Linked DNA regions of Homo sapiens: region 2 is linked to region 1. Evidence: promoter capture Hi-C in human tissues and cell types (Jung and others, 2019). All regions are on one chromosome and are shown on one strand. The core of a region is centred on a gene start or on the middle of the fragment in contact, and the rest is flanking DNA. Distances in the headings are between cores, read along the strand shown. Region 1 holds the start of OR2AT4 (olfactory receptor family 2 subfamily AT member 4). Region 2 overlaps LOC107984358 (a long non-coding RNA gene).

Region 1 (3,484 bases), core at 526-3,025:
CAGTGGGTCCCGCACCGGGGCTGCAGGTGGAGCTGCCTGCCAGTCCCGGAGCCATGCGCCCACACTCCTCGGCCCTTGGGTGGTCGATGGGACTGGGTGCTGTGGAGCACGGGGCAGCACTCATCGGGGAGGCGGGGGCCGCACAGGAGCCCAGGGAGGGGGTGGGAGACTCAGGCATGGCGGGCTGCAGGTCCCGAGCCCTGCCCCGCGGGAAGGCAGCTAAGGCCCAGAGAGAAATCGAGCACAGCGCCAGTGGGCTGGCACTGCTGGGGGACCCAGTACACCCTCCACAGCCGCTGGCCCGGGTGCTAAGCCTCTTATTGCCTGGGGACAGCAGGGCCGGCCGGCTGCTCTGAGTGTGGGGTCCGCCAAGCCCACGCCCACCCAGAACTCCAGCTGGCCTGCAAGCGCAGGCGCAGCCCTGGTTCCCACTCGCGCCTCTCTCTCCACACCTCCCTGCAAGCTGAGGGAGCCGGCTCCGGCCTTGGCCAGCCCAGAAAGGGGCTCCCACAGTGCAGCGGTGGGCTGAAGGGCTCCTCAAGTGCCGCCAAAGTGGGAGCCCAGGCAGAGGAGGCACCGAGAGCGAGCGAGGGCTGTGAGGACTGCCAGCACGCTGTCACCTCTCACTGAGACTACAGGTGCATGCCACCATGCCCAGCTAATTTTTTTGTATTTTTCAGTAGAGATAGAGTTTTGCCAGTTGTCCAAGCTGCTCTCTTACTCCTGGACTCAAGAGATCCTCCCCCTTCGGCCCGGCAAAGTGCTGGGATTACAGGCGTGAGCCACCACACCCGGCCTAGAACTTTCACTTTTGACTCAGTAAAGCTCTGTATTGATTAAAATGTTCTACAATGAGGTTCTGTTTATTACTTGTGAAATTAAAAAAAAATTAAAATTTTATGAGTATTAGTAGGAGTGACCAAGTCAGTCAAGTCAGAAACAGAACACTGGAGCCAAAGGAGAGAATCAGAAAGATTGAGGCAGGAAGAGTCTGTGACTCTTGACTTTGTCCTGTATGGGGTTGGGGCAGAGACTTCCACCCTCACATTCTTTCCACAAAACCTTTGCAAGTTCTCATTGCACAGCAGCGGAAGTATCACATACTCATTGAACAAGGCTTTACTGCTTTGGTCCATTAAAATAATAGCTCCCACTTATTGAATGCCTAATAAGTGGCAGGAACTGGGTGAAGCACCTCAACCTGCCCAGTTATCCTGTGAGAGAGTTAGTGTCGTTATACCCATTCCACAGATGACAAAATGAAGACCCAGTGAGGTTAAGGGATTTGTTCAAAGTCATATTACTGGGAATAACTCGGGTCTTAGTCATTAGATAACATGTTGCTGAACCACTGAACCAGAATTGGAGCCTTGGGTACAAATCCCAGCTCTGCCACCAGCCACTCATATGACCTTGGGCAAGTCACCTCACTTCTCTAGATCTCAGTTTCCTCAAATGTAAAATAGTGGAAATAATCCTGACTCTGCCTGTCTTCCCTGGCTATTGTGAGGACCAGATGGGAAAACAGGAATAATACTGGTGATAAAGTTCTGGGACCCATGAGGGTTGTTAATGATGTTGTTTTCATTATCAGCAAAGCCCAGAACAAAGTCCCCCACTCCACCCTCGGAAGTTGTTCTCAGCTGACTGGCAGTTATCTGGTCCCACGGGTGAGCCTTCTTGTGGGGAGAGAGCCCCAGCAGGCCTGGTTGCAGAGAGGGGCCCGAGGGTTTAAAGGGCCATGGTTGAGTTTCTACCTGGCTCTTCCCAACCAAGGCCAACTGTGACGACTCTACACAAGACATCAAGGCGGACCAGGATTGGTAGGTGAGCTGGGCTGGGGATGGAGTGCGCAGAGCAGGCAGAGACTGGGATGGGGAGATAGGCTCAGGGAGGTTGGGGGCATGTACAACCACAGTAAAGATCCTGGGAATGTCAGGGTCCCAGGATCCAAGTCAACCACGCAGTCAGCCTGGGTGAGTGTAGACCAGACACCCTCGCAGGCAGGGGCAGGGCTGTGCAGTCACAAGCAAGAGGCTAATGATCTTGGAAGAGAATTCCTCACAAGGAGGCAAAGCTGATGACGATAAGAGAAATGGGAATAATTTGTGAGGGAATTGCAGTCCATTGGAGGAAAGCACAAAGTGGTGGAGCCAGGAAGGAAACTCAGGCCTTTCTAACTGCAAAGTTAATAGACCTAGATTCTGTGCTTCACGTATATCCTGCTCCTTTTCTATGGAAACAGTGCAGGATGGTGAGAATATCATGAGAGAACTGCATGAGTTTGGGCGTCGTAATGATGTGTAATGACTGTAAAGAATCAAGCAGGCAACAGAAGCTTAACAAATGAGAGCGCCCTTGCTCTCCTTCCTAAGAGGCTGAGGCCATGACACATCTGTCTTCGAATCTCTCATTTATCTAAACACAGAGTAGATACTCAAAATATTTATCAAGCTGGAGATCATTGCTTCCAAAGTCCTCATTTTATAGATGGGAAAACTGAGGCTCAGAGACCCAGCATCACAGCAAGAGAGTGGCAGAGCTGGTCCAGGAGAGCTCAAGGTGAGTTGATAATCTAGCTCTGTTGACAGTCTAGTTCTAGTTCTATCACCCACTTACTGTGTGACCTTGGGAAAGTCACAGCCCATTTCTGGGACTCCCTTTTCTGTCCCCATCTATATAATAAAGAGGTTAGGTGAAATGCCAGCACTTTGGGAGGCCGAGGCGGGCAGATCACTTGAGATCAGGACTTCAAGACCAGCCTGGCCAACATGGTGAAACACCATCTCTACTAAAAATACAAAAATTAGCCGGACATGGTGGCAAGCGCCTGTAATCCCAGCTACTCGGGAGGTTGAGGCATGAGAATCGCTTGAACCCGGGAGGCAGAGGTTGCAGTGAGCCGAGATCGTGCCACTGCACTCCAGCCTGGGTGATAGAGCAAGACTCAATCTCAAAAAAAAAAAAAAAAAAGAGGTTAGGTGAAAACTATTTAATCACTAATGGCCCCTTCATTCCTATTTGATGATTTATCAGCAAAACAAGGCAAGTTGGAAAGCTGCATTCCAGAGCACTAAGCTCCTGGGAAGGATGGTGCAGTATCAAATAGAAACGATCAGACCCCATTACTGCTCTGAAAGTGCTCCTGGTGTGGTGGACACATAAATAGACAGAGACAACCTGGTGTAATCATAATAATGACAAACAGAAGCACAGGAACTTCAAGAGCCCAGGAAAGAGGCTCCTGAGCCAGCCAGGACCATAGAAGATCTCTTGGAGGAAGTAATATTTGAGCTGAATTTGGCAGAAGCACAAGGCAAGAGCAAGGAGTTGCCATTTGACTAGAATAAGGAGAAACAAGGCTGCAAGAAGACAGGCTTTGAATAGCAGGCTAAGGAATCATCCTCTCTCATGAAACATCCTACAAAGACTGGGTGGGAGCCAGGACACCGGCTTTAAAACCTACTTCTGCTATGAATTTGTT
Region 2 (3,484 bases), core at 334-2,833, 41 kb before region 1:
GGCTTCAGAAGCTCTCCTCCTCCTCCTCTATTGACCATCCTCTTCATCCTCTCACTCTCTACTGGCTGCTTCCTACCCACGAATTGTGGGAAATATGCTAAAATATCTCCAATTTTTAAAGTACAACAAAATTCCCCCTGATTTCTTGCTATGGTCTGAATGTTTGTGACCTTCAAAATCCATATGTTAAATCTTGGCCAGGTGTGGTGGCTCACACCTGTAACCCCAGTGTTTTAGGAGGCCATGGTGCGAGAACTGCTTGAGGCCCAGAGTTCAAGACCAGCCTGTGCAGCATAGTGAGACTCTGTCTCTACAGAAATGGAAAACACTAGCCGGGCATAGTGGCATGTGCCTGTAATCCCAGCTATATGGGAGGCTGAGGCGGGAAGATCACTTAACCCCAGGAGTTTGAGGCAGTGAGCTATGATGGTGCTACTGCGCTCCAGCCAGTGCAACAGAGTGAGACCCTGTATCTAAAAAAAAAAAAAAAATGAATGCATGAGTGAATAAATAAATTAAAATTTAAAAGGTCAGGCATGGTCTCAGCTCCCAGCTACTTGGGAGGCTAAGGCAGGAGGATTGTTTGAGGCCAGGGGTTCAAGACAAGCCTGGGCCACATAGCAAGATACTGTCTCTACAAAAAAAATTTTCTTTTTTTTAATAAAGCAAACCTAACCTCTAGGGTGATGGTGTTTAATGGTGGGGCCTTTGGGAAGTGATTAGTTTGTAAGGGTAAAGCCCTCTTGAATGAGATTACATCCCTTATAAAAGAGGCCTGAGAGAGCTTGTTGGTCCCTTCCACCATGTGAGGACACAGCTAGAAAGTGCCATCTATGAAGCAGAGAGCAGCCCTCACCAGACACTGGATCCACTGGCACCTTGATCTTGGACTTCCCAGCCTCCAGAACTGTGAGCAATAAATTTCTGTTGTTTACAAATGACCCAGTTTAAGGTATTTTGTTATAAAACCCTGAACTGCCTAGGACACATCTCATCAGCCTCCAACCATCCACATCTCTTTTCAGCTAAACATCTTGAAGATGTTATCTATTCTCTCTCCATTTACTCACTCCCAACCTTCCACGCTCACTGTTCCACTGGCCTGTTCACACCTGGGGCACCAGTGATCCCCTCATCACTGGACCCCACAGACACTTTTCATCCGATTCTTGTCCTCTTGGGCACATCAGCAACATTTGATGCTGCTGACCACAGCTGCCCTAGGGAGCTTCTGTGATATAACACTCTCCTGGTTTTGCTTCACGCTCTCTGGCTGTTGTTTCTCAGTATCTTTTACAGAAATTTCTTGTTCTGCCTCAGTCTCATGTTGTTTCCCCCCATGGTTCTGTCCTTCTCACACTACACTCTCTCCCTAGGTGATCTTGTTCACTATCATAAGTATATGCCTCCCAAGTCTTTGCCTGCATCCACTCTCTCTCCTGAGCTCCAGACATCAGTCAACATCACCACCATCTGTCTCGTCACCCAAACCAGAATACTGGGCATCATCTTGGACCTTTCCATAATCAGTTGTCAAATTCTGACTATTCTACCTCTTGAAGATTCTCCAAATTTTTTTTTTCCTTACTCTGTTGCCTGGGCTGGAATGCAGTGGCTTGATCTTGGCTTACTGCAACCTCTGCCTCCCAGGTTCAAGAGATTCTCCTGCCTCAGCCTCCCAAGTAGCTGGGATTATAGGCATGTGCCACCACCCCTGGCTAATTTTTATGTTTTTAGTAGAGTTGGGGTTTCACCATGTTGGCCAGGCTGATCTCGAACTCCTGACCTCAAGTGATCCACCCGCCTCAGCCTCCCAAAGTGGGATTACAGACGTGAGGCACCACGCCCAGCCAGATTCTCTAAGCTTTGATAGTTAAGAGGCATGGCTTTGGAGATGGATTGGACTCTACACTAACTCACTATTTATCCAGCAGAATGACCAAAGCAGGCTTAGTTACTTAACCCTCTGAGCTCCCTCATCCATAAAACAAGGGTAATGGAAATTGCTCCTTGGATTAAATGAAATGAAGTATGTGACTACCAGGGCACAGCCATTAGTACAAGTAAGCTCTCAATAAAGGGCAGCCATCATCTGCTATCATTGTCATTAATACTCCTCTCTATTCCTCTCCTCACCACCAAGCTTCCTGGCTGGTTGCCCTGCCTCTGGTCTCTCTCTCCTACTCGAAGACATTCCCCGTGCCACAGTGGGTATGAGCTTTCTCAAACATGTAGCTGACTATCTTAGCCCTCTGTCTGAGCCCTGGTTCTGGCTTTCCAATGTCCTCATGCTGAGGGTTGTTCTTGGCTTCAAGACTCTCCTCCCTCTGGCCCCTGCCAACCTCTTTAGCCTCATCTTTGGAGACTCGCAGTCTCTCCTTCTATATTGCAGCCCAAACCAACTTCTATCTCCCCTCTAACACACCTCCTGCTTTTTCTACACTTCATGACTTTGTTTACCCCCTCCTTTGTGGCCTGCACTCTATTCATCTGCTTGAAATTTATGACCCATTTAAGAGATGTCTTCCATGATGCAAGTCGCTTTGTTTCCTCCTCTGGGCCCTTCAGCTCTATGGTAGCACAGATCACAGTGGATATGATGGACAGGGTTTTGGCTGGCTACCCCACTAGACTGTGTCAATTCCCTGTGACCATGCACCCAGTGCAAAGCCAGCCTTATTCAATGTGGAATGAAAAACGAACCTCAGTTATCTTAATCTTTAAAATGGCAGCATTGGCAGCCAGGCCTGGTCAATCCAGAGGAGAGAAAGAGCACTGGAGCCTGGAGGAAGATGAAGTCACAGAAGGCTCCCTGGAGGAGGTCGGGCTTAGAATTATAAGGCCTCTGTATTAGTCTGTTTTCACACTGCTGATACAGACATACTCAAGACTGGGCAATCTTCTGAGCCCTCCAAACTGTTCCAACCTGTGCCTGTTACCCAGTTCCAAAGTCGCTTCCACAGTTTTGGGTATCTTTTCAGCAATGCCGCACTCTATCGGTACCAATTTACTGTATTAGTCCTTTTTCATGATGCTGATAAAGACATACCTGAGACTGGGCAATTTATAAAAGGAAGAGGTTTATTGGACGTACAGTTCCACTTGGCTGGGGAAGTCACACAATCATGGCAGAAGGCAAGGAAGAGCAAGTCTCGTCTTACATGGATGGTGGCAGGCAAAGAGAGAATGAGGAAGATTCAAAAGTGGAAACCCCTGATAAAATAATCAGATCTCATGAGACTTGTTCACTACCAAGAGAACAGTAGAGGGGAAACCACCTCCATGATTCAGTTATCTCCCACTGGGTCCCTCCCACAAAACGTGGGAATTATGGGAGTACAATTCAAGATGAGATTTGGGTGGGGACACAGAGCCAAACCATATCAGCCGCTAAGAACGATCAAGAGTGAGCAAGAGAGTGAGGATTTGGAAGACTGAGTGGCTCTCTGTTCTGTCATGCTTGTTCCTCCAGCTTCAATACACT

Evidence for each region. Contacts are between HindIII fragments. The study calls those that stand out against the background at their distance.
Region 2: a contact is called between a fragment that was not itself captured here and the fragment with the promoter of OR2AT4 in region 1, in 1 of the 25 tissues and cell types used here (pancreas).

The regions. Positions count from the first base shown.
Region 1 is chr11:75,095,167-75,098,650 of GRCh38, reverse strand. It overlaps OR2AT4 (olfactory receptor family 2 subfamily AT member 4), which reads left to right and starts at 1,775. Exons shown (of 2, transcript NM_001405852.1): 1 at 1,775-1,823. RefSeq lists a cis regulatory region at 1,401-1,916. The HindIII fragment of the contact is 12,596 bases long and covers 983-3,484 here.
Region 2 is chr11:75,136,014-75,139,497 of GRCh38, reverse strand. The region is part of intron 1 of LOC107984358 (a long non-coding RNA gene); the gene reads left to right. Among named protein-coding and RNA genes, the nearest start is that of SLCO2B1, 13 kb to the left of the region's middle. The HindIII fragment of the contact is 3,555 bases long and covers 1-3,360 here.